Regions from separate parts of the Homo sapiens genome. Here region 1 is linked to region 2. Evidence: promoter capture Hi-C in human tissues and cell types (Jung and others, 2019). All regions are on one chromosome and are shown on one strand. The core of a region is centred on a gene start or on the middle of the fragment in contact, and the rest is flanking DNA. Distances in the headings are between cores, read along the strand shown. Region 1 overlaps MED12L (mediator complex subunit 12L). Region 2 holds the start of CLRN1 (clarin 1).

Evidence for each region. Contacts are between HindIII fragments. The study calls those that stand out against the background at their distance.
Region 1: a fragment that was not itself captured here is called in contact with the fragment with the promoter of CLRN1 in region 2 in 2 of the 25 tissues and cell types used here (hippocampus and small bowel).

What each region holds. Positions count from the first base shown.
Region 1 is chr3:151,106,821-151,111,742 of GRCh38, reverse strand. All of the region lies in intron 2 of MED12L (mediator complex subunit 12L), which reads right to left. Among named protein-coding and RNA genes, the nearest start is that of MED12L, 24 kb to the right of the region's middle. The HindIII fragment of the contact is 3,879 bases long and covers 1-3,364 here.
Region 2 is chr3:150,970,869-150,975,828 of GRCh38, reverse strand. It overlaps CLRN1 (clarin 1), which reads left to right and starts at 3,102. Exons shown (of 3, transcript NM_174878.3): 1 at 3,102-3,373. The coding sequence starts at 3,121. CLRN1-AS1 (CLRN1 antisense RNA 1) reads right to left here and starts at 3,151. Exons shown (of 6, transcript NR_024066.2): 1 at 2,736-3,151. The HindIII fragment of the contact is 11,205 bases long and covers 1-4,960 here.

The DNA of each region.
Region 1 (4,922 bases), core at 176-2,675, 140 kb before region 2:
AGGCTCTGGGTTTAAGAAACACTGAGCTCCATACTGAAGTGTCAGTCAAAATCTTGCTCGTGCTGCAACACGACAACAATGGGGATGCTCTAATTCCAACTCACTAGGCCATCCTCTGGCTCGCAGTTGTGGTTCCAGGTGGATACACGCTGGCACCAGCTAAGACTGACTGATGGAGATGCAGACAAGAGTGGGGACAGCACTGTGGGTAAGAGCCCAGGGTCTGCAATCAGACAGCTCGAATTTAAACCCCCTACTCCATTTAAGAGGGACTCTAAGCAAGCTCTGGGACCATTGCTGTGCCTCCGTTTCCTCAATTGTAAAACGGGGATAGTAATAGTTTCTACCATGTTATCTCCATAACCCAGTTCAAAAAAAAATAAAGCCCAGAGAGAAACTAACTTGACCAAGGTCACACAGTAGTGAAGAATTCCAAAAAGTCTATGCTCCCAACCATCAAACCATATAAAAATGGCTGGCAATTAGCATTGCTGCTATTGTTCGTATCATATTTTTGGTTCCAGAAAGTGATAACCTGAAGCTCCAGTCAGAAGAGATACAAAAAACCTTCTTGGGAAAATAAAAAGACCCTTTCCTTAAAGCAGTGGCTCTCTAACTTTTACATCTATCAGAATCCTCTGAAGAACTTGCTAAAGCACAGCTGCTGGTCCCACCCACAGAGTTCCCACTTCAGTAGGTCAGGGGTGGTGCCTGAGAATCTGTATTTCTAACAACTTCCCAGGTGATGCTGATACAGAGACCATGCTAACATGAAGAGTTGAGGTTTCTGCCTCTCTAGAAAACCGGGGTTTCCATGCCCAGTGCCAGTACAGGTCTCACCACCAGGAAGAAAATGGATGTCCCATCTTGGCTCAACAGCAGCAGATCCCAAGAGGAAAAGTCCATTCAGAATTCTCTACCATACCCCCTTCCTTCTCTCACTGTAAGGGCACAAATGCAAAGCTACACACACACACACACAAACATACATACAGATCCAGGAAGGAACCAAGCGTATAAAGTTTTCACTTCACTCCTTTAACTTCCTATAGAACACTAGGGCCACAGAGCCAAAAAAGAAGCTGTCACTTCTGTGAGGTTTATTAGTACAAAACTTTAGGTCAGGGACCTAGAGAAACTAAGTGAAAGGAGGTAAAAATCCAGAGTATCACAACCAAAAAAATGCACCTTGATGGTCTATTTCCTGAAGTTTCTGAGAAGAGTTAACATCAATGACAAAAATCCAAAAGATAAGAATAAGATTCAAGTTCCAGAGTGTTAACTATTGTTGCTTAGACATTATTTCTCAAACTCCAGTAATGCACCAATAGACCCCTTTTAGAGGAAAACCACAGCCTCAGGGAGTCCTTAGACCCCAAGTTTGGGAAACTGGGCTGGACATGGACACTTAATGGTATTAGGCAGCATTAAGAGGTTCCAAACAAGAGGTAATGCGTGTCACCTGAACTCAAATAACAAACTTTTATGACACTGCTCTGAAGGCTTTTGTCAAGTCTAATCAGGCAAAAATAGAAAGAGGAGAGTCCAAATTTTGGAACAGCATGCCTCTAAAACCCCCAAGCCAGAATGTTTAAGGGACACAAATAGCTTCCTCTTGTACTAGCCCCAAACCTCTTCAAAGATGTCTTGAAATAATGGAGGGTAACAGCCACCAAAATTCTTACGACGCCTTTCCTTACAGAGATTTAAGCTTGTTCACTATATCTAGCCAACAGTTCTTATAATAGAACTTCCAGCAACTACTTTGCCCATCTGCAAAGGTGAGGCAACTAAGATCCCAAAAACGTGAGGCACACACAACAGTTAGTCAAGATCCTGTTCCCAGGGTCGTGCTCTGGGAACCAGATCAACAGCACTGAACCTTTTAAAAGGACTCTTACTAAAGGCTGCACATCTTCCTGTTGTACAACATGGAAAGTAAGAGAAAAAATAAAGCACTTTTAATAACTGTTGGGAAGCAGAAGAGACCATGAATCCAGACATACTTTTAAATATGTTTAACATTAACAGCATCTAGGGCAAAATAGTTGTACACACATGTCCAAGACCAAGTATTAACTAAGCCAAGAGACAATGCCAGCTGAGAATGTGAATTCACAGTCCTCACCAAGCGGCCCAGAGTAGCAGTGCACCAAACCATTGTGCACATGGATTTCAACAGATTTACAACAAAGTAATCCAAACATAGAGAAAGGAGAACTCTCACACCTCTTGTCATTGGTTTCGACTAAAATAACAAGCTTTAAAGCAATTCGAGGGAGACAGGCACACAGAGAGAAACAGAAACCAAAGTCCAGAAAATAGTCCATGCTAATATGTAAGGCCTGTGTTCACTCTGTATTTTTGTATTCTACACTGATAACAAAAATCAGACCTTCGGCCCAGTGCGGTGGCTCACGCACTTTGGGAGGCCGAGGCAGGCAGATCCCGAGAGGTCAGGAGATTGAGACCATCCTGGCTAACACGGTGAAACCCCGTCTCTACTTAAAATACAAAAAAATTGCCGGGCGTGGTGGCTGGTGGCTGCGTGTAGTCCCAGCTACTCGGGAGGCAGGAGAATCACTTGAACCCGGGAGGCAGAGGTTGCAGTGAGCCGAGATTGCGCCACTGCACTCCAGCCTGGGCGACAGAGCGAGACTCCATCTCAAAAAAAAAAAAAATTCAGACCTTCGATACTTCGGGTAACCTCCAACTGCATCCATAAATCTCATGCATTTACCTTGAACTTCACAGAATGATCTTATTTTTTGGATCACTTTCAAAGCAATCTTTTAATTTCAATGAAATGTTTCACTGGGAAAGTGAAAACATTTTGATGCTAGTTTGGGAATTTCTTAAGCTCTTTTGCACTCAAGAAAAAAATAAGCTCAGTTTAACACAATTTTCAATGGCCATCTCAAAGTCAGATAATGCACACAAATACATACTACAGACACTCACAACCTCCTGAGCGTCACCCTCTATCGCACAGAACATGCGCAGAAACTCCCAATTTTTTCCGTCCCCTAGTCACATCTAACAAACCAGTTCCATGACGATTCAATGAATTGGACAGAAATGTCCACCAGGGATGAGAAAGCCACAGAAGTAGAAAAATATCCCTCTATGCGCTAGTCAAGAAGGCTGAGTTAGCTCAAGTCTTACTCAGAACAAACAAAACACTTTTCATGGTTTTATAGCTATATTTCCTAGCCTTGTCCACCTCTCCCCCAAAAGAACATTCTCTCAGACCCCCAAGGATGTCTGTAAACCCCAGTTTGGGAAACTGGGCTATGATAATCCCCATCACAGATACATGTAATTGTTACTAGGCAACACCTACAGTTAGCAGATATAAAAGACCTGGAAGATAAGGGAAGAATCTTTTACTCCTCATAACTCATCATTAACCAAACCTATCCATACTTCTCTCAAAACATATCTCCCCTTTATTCCTTCCTTTAAAATACTACAACCCCCCTCCCACCCACCACCTGCCCCTCACCCCACCCCTACCAACTGAGGCAGCTGTTACAGCAGGATTCGGCTACTGCTCCGCACACATTTCACTCCTGTCCAGCATGCCTACTGGCCCTGGATGAATCTTCCTGAAACAGTTTTCTATTCTGCACTCTCCTATCCAAAAGCATCAGAAGGCTTTCTTCTCTTTTTCCCCTGAGAAGCGAAAAAGCAGCATCTAGCATAACTGTCTACAAACCCTCAATAACATCTCTGGTCTTCTCCCCACTTATCTCTGGCCCCAAATCAAAACACAGTCGCCCAGGACTGGCATTCAAAGCCTTAAACAATCAAGCCCAGCATTCCAGCCTTGCTTCCATTCTAAGTGTGCGAGTCACATGGATCTGCGTTTGAATGCATAGGCTTACCTACGATTGAGACTAAGATAACTGATCTCTGTATCTTGGTGGCTTTGTTTGAAAGGAGACAGGAATAACTCACAGGACTGAGGTTACATAAGATTAAATGTGCAGAGTTTAGCACAGTGCCTGGTCCATTATTAAATGCCCTATAAATGGTGGCTATTGTTATTATAGCTGTTTTCTATTTTTGTATTTTAACTTTCATTTAATCTATTTTATTATATGCCATCCCACATACGCTGTCTTTTCAACCTCTAAGCCTTACATCATGCCATTCCCACCCCCTGAAATACATTATTATGAAATATTTTATATTTTTCAAGCCACAACTCAAGGCCTGCTCCCCGTCCTTCATTCGATTAACAAATAATTATGCATACAGACTCTGCTAAGTCCAGGGGATTCCATAGTGAGCGAATTCCAAGTGTTATAAATACCCCAAACTGCCTGCTCAGAAAGCACATAACAGTGGCTTAAACTAGTCTGGGGAGTTAGACAAGAATGCTCTGAAAAGGTGGCCTTTGACCTGAGCTCTGACTGCAAAGTAGGAGTTAACTTCAAGAGGATAGCCTCTTACAGTGGTAAGCTTCTGATATTTTGCATGAAATGATATAATATTAACTCTAAGGAGATCATGAATAGGTAGGGTGTAGACTGTAATTCCTAGAGCAACAACTCCGAAAAACAACACAAATAAGTATAACTAAAATGCAATTGGTAAACAAAAGTTATTTTTAAAATAGTCTAATAATCCAAAAAAAAAAAAAAAGCTGGGGACACAGAAAACAAATAGTAAAATGGTAGACCCAAAGCCAACCATATCAATAAGCACATTAAATGCTAATTAAATATTCGTGGACTAAGACTCCAATTAGAAGACTGGAATTGTCAGAATGAGTAAAAAAGTAGAGCCCAACTACAGGCTATACTTTAAATATAAAGACATACTTTAAATATAGAGACAGATAAGTTGATAGGAAATGGATGAAAAAGACATATACCATGCAAACAATAAACATAAAAGAGTTGAAGTAGCTGTAT
Region 2 (4,960 bases), core at 1,853-4,352:
TAGTTTGTAATCAGTAGATAGCCATGTGAAAAGGAGATAAGGGCAGTGGCTTCCAACCTTGGCTGCACAATGCAATCACCTGGGGTGATTCGACGCTAAGGCCATACTCTAAAATCAAATAAATCTGAATCTCAGGGATGAGGACACAGACATCAGTACTTTTAAAATCTTCTCAAGTGATTCTAATGAGCAGCAAAACTGAGAACCACCGTGTCAAAGCAAAGGGTGAGGTTTTAGGCCTCAAAGGGTGAGTCTCACCCTTTCCACTCAGGGATCTTTTATGTCATAGAGCAGTGGGTTTGATTTGGTTTTGTTTTAAATCAGGAGTAGACATAGGTTTGCCAGTTTCTAAATTTGTCAAATAAAATCATTAAAAATTCAACTACCATTATCTCATTAAAGAAAGAAAATTTCAACAATAAAAATTAGGAAGGGCCTAACTTCAGGATATAAGAGTAACTCAGTATGTTGTATTTATTTTTCCCATGTCTCTACAGACGAGTGAACATGTCGCTACAGACTGATGCAAACTGATGCAACTGATGTGATCTAATTGCTCTCTACACCCATAATCAAGGCTTTCCTCCTTGGACAGCTTTAGATATACTTGGCTGAGTTTGGGTTAATTAAACCGCTGTCCTATGCTAACTATCCTTCTCTTGCCATATCCTTTAGTAGAGGTTATTAATAGTATTGATTAAGTTGTAGGTGATTTCTTCTCCCAGGCTTTGGAAATGTTCTGTCTCTTCCAATTACAGAATATGTTGATTTAGTAAGCTCAGCTCTGCTTAGACATCTTAAACTAAGTTTTCTAGGGTGACTGTGGCACATATATGCCCAAATAACCACTTATCAGGGGCACTGGCACCCCCTTGTTTTGCTAGTGGACCATGATAGCGATTATTCTAAATCCAGTGGTGAATTCATTGGAGGGCCAAATAAACTGAGATGAGTTGCTTATTCTGTGTTCTAGCAATTATTCTAAATCCAGTGGTGAATTCATTGGAAGGCCAAATAAACTGGGATGAGTTGCTTATTCTGTGTTAAGTTATACAAAATAAAAAAGACTTACTAATATTGTAAACTTTATTTTAAGTGCCTCTTTGGAATCTTCTATATGCCCAGTTCTTCTGTGGCCATGTTTTATATTGCCCCTCTTCTCCCCGAAGGTACATTGGCATTCTAGAATGAGTTCTATACTTAGTTGTCTGTCCTTAACGAGACTGGCTGTTGCGACTCCTAGGAGAGGCGAGCTGTGAGAGAAGTTTACCAGTACTCCGAGTCTATACCTCAAAGTTCCCTTCGAAGTGTGCATAATGTAGAGACTCATTTATGCTGAAAATGGTGTGAAATAAGTCTTCATTTATTAATTTCCTCTAAGCTGTCATGCTTAAAGGTGGATCAAAAGAATAGAAGCTAGCATACACATGTGCTTTTGGCCAACTGAAAAAGTTCTATTTACTGATGTCTGTGTTCTTCAAACACTCAATATGTGTAACTAATAATGGGCTAGTCTGCCCCTGTTACTCCTAGACGAACCCAACCCAAACTGAAATGTTTGCCATCTTTTCAAGGTCAGGGGCTTTGCTTGGAATAGAACATCAACCTCAGAAGTAGAAGACCTGGATTTGAATCCCAGCTCCACTACTCTCTTCAGCAAGTTGCTTAAACTCTCTGAGCCTCAATTCCCTTATATATAAGATACGAATAATTGCTTTTTCTTCTTCTTTCTTCTTTCTTATTCTTCTTCCTTCTTCCTTTCTCCTCCTCCTCCTCCTTCTTCTCCTCCTCCCTCCTCTTCTTCTTCCTCTTCTTCATTACTTTATATGCTAATTATGAGAATTACATATGATAATTTAGGTAGAATACTTCACAAGTTGCCAGACATAAGTTCTTACTAAACATTAACTTTGTAGGTCAGAGCTCAGGACAATAACATGGCATATAATAAACATTCACTAGACACTTCACACACACACACACACACACACACACACACACACACACACACACAGTCCTGTGTCTGTAGAAGGAGGAATCTCATTGGAAATGCAAAGTTAAAAAGCTGTTACTGAATTCTGAACTTTAGTTTCCAGGTCTTGACCGTTTAACCAGACCTACCTGCTGCTTAATCTTTGCTCATAACTGTCTCTAGTCTCCCAAACAGATTACCTTTGCTGAGACCTGTGCATTTTTATGATGAATCCATAGAGTCACCTATCTGACCACCATCCCTCTTTCCATCAATATGCCCTTATCTTTACAGATCCTGGTATTCCTTGGACCCAGAAACACATTCCCTTGCTATTATCCTAAAGCAGCTAAGCCTGTTAAAGGAAAGCATTTAGAAATCTAGATATCTGCTCCTGCATTTTCATATTTCTGTATGCCAAGAAAAATTTGAATCAAATTCTCTATTGATACATTAGGTATAAACCATGGATCTGGGAGAAATTAAGTTGGAAGGACAAGGACCCATGGTTGATCCAGAGCACTTAATATTCGTGTAGGACCAAATTCTGTTTAATATTTTTATCCTGCTGTAATTAAAAATTTTTGACATCAACTATCAATACAGGTACATATGTTCTCCCTACCTCTGCTAAAGCTCCTTCCCCCACCACCAAAAACAATAACAAACAAAAAACAAAAATAAAAACATCGATAAGTGAACTTCTCAAGTTGCTGAAAATGTACCATCAGATTCAAGCCTGTTTCTGAAAGTTTCAACTCACCCAATCAGACAAAAGGCTGAGGAAGGGAAACATTTATCAAGTTACACTGAGGACTCCATCTGTTATCTTCGACCTTTGTTACCAAGTGACACAGAGGAGATACTTGAAGGCAGTTTGAAAGACTTGTTTTACAGATTCTTAGTCCAAAGATTTCCAATTAGGGAGAAGAAGCAGCAGAAAAGGAGAAAAGCCAAGTATGAGTGATGATGAGGCCTTCATCTACTGACATTTAACCTGGCGAGAACCGTCGATGGTGAAGTTGCCTTTTCAGCTGGGAGCTGTCCGTTCAGCTTCCGTAATAAATGCAGTCAAAGAGGCAGTCCCTTCCCATTGCTCACAAAGGTCTTGTTTTTGAACCTCGCCCTCACAGAAGCCGTTTCTCATCATGCCAAGCCAACAGAAGAAAATCATTTTTTGCATGGCCGGAGTGTTCAGTTTTGCATGTGCCCTCGGAGTTGTGACAGCCTTGGGGACACCGTTGTGGATCAAAGCCACTGTCCTCTGCAAAACGGGAGCTCTGCTCGTCAATGCCTCAGGGCAGGAGCTGGACAAGTTTATGGGTGAAATGCAGTACGGGCTTTTCCACGGAGAGGGTGTGAGGCAGTGTGGGTTGGGAGCAAGGCCCTTTCGGTTCTCATGTAAGTAGCAATTGCATTTGAGTTATTTAATGCTTTAGGCAGACTCTTCCCAGTGTTGCGAGGAATTATATTTGAGAATTTTGCCGTGTTTACTGCAGGACTTTTTAAATCGGTGTGAACCATATGAAAAACCTATGACTCTGAGCAATTTCTTCTTCCTAGTTTTTATTATTTTATACTTGCTTTTTATTATAATATAGAGTTAATTCATTGTTACATAATTAAGGTTTTTGGAAATATTGGCAATTAAGATGCTTAAGTATTAATATTTATGTAAAAAATTATGGAGTCTTTTTAAAAAAGTAAACTTGGGGAAATAGGAAAGCTGTAAAGAATGATCTTTATGCTTTTTGTTCTTTATAAAAAGAACCAAGGTCATGGGCTCCGTATTTAACCAGGTTGCCACCTTTCTCATGATTTTGTTTCCTGCTCCCCACTCCCTCCCATTATTCCTGCTAAGACCTTTCCTGCTGCTAAATATTCAGTTTTCATTTTTAACTAATTTGGAATCATTTGGCTATAGAAATTTAAAATGATCTGCTGTGCTAACTGGGAAAGAAATGGATGCCTATTTAGTATAGAACATTTTAAACTGATTGACCTGCAAATCATGTAGAGAATATGAGAGAGATTTTCTTGTTGTGATTTTTGTGAAATGGAAGTGTAATCCACAGTATTTATAACCTGTTTATCTTAAGAAGAGAATTTTTAAAAATTACCATGTGAATAGGCAACTCATTAAATGAAAATTAATAGGAAGTCATTTGTTATATCTCTTACAACACACATTCAGAAGTTATTATTATTTCAGAAGGGCTGGTTTGGAACAACCTTATGAAGACACAGTCAGTAAATTACTGCATAAATCACTCTTCAGGAAAGGAGGTTACCAACTGAAGCATTTAAAATGAATTATTATTTTGCCCAGGTTTTTTTTTTCTTTCTAGTATAGGTAGAAGGCTAAATTAATTGAATTTATTATTAACATATGCAGTGCCTAATTAAATTTCAGTGCTGGTCTATTTATATTTCTGCAACATTCCTTATATCTTCTTAGCAGTCATTGGACACCAACCTTCAGCTCACATAGGTTACTAAGTGATATGAATTTTCATAGGGCTCCAGAAAATTTCCAAGAATTGGTTGTTAGCTTTTTAATTGATGAAGTGGATACCAGTTCTTTTCACTGAATGGCTTTTATTCATTAAGGTAATGGGGCTGTTAGAGTTGCTTAGTTTTCCTGGGGAAGGGGAAGGAAGAAAACAAAGCAGAATGTCATGTGATATGCAACTGTATTAAAAAACCGAAAAGGAAAAAAGTTGAGAGAGATGATTTAACCGTGAGTCACCGGCAGCCAAAGCGTGAGTAAAGCTTCTCACAGATGAATTTAGACAAAAGCGGAGAAGGTACTGGTGAATTTTCTGGAGCCTTTACATTTTCTACAGTGAAATGGAGATAAACTTTACTCATGCCATAGGACATGTTTCAAAACAATAATAAGATGTTTTCTGAACACTTACTACATACTAAGCACTTTATATGCTTTGTCTCATTTAATCCTTACACAGCCACATTCTTCTGGGGTTT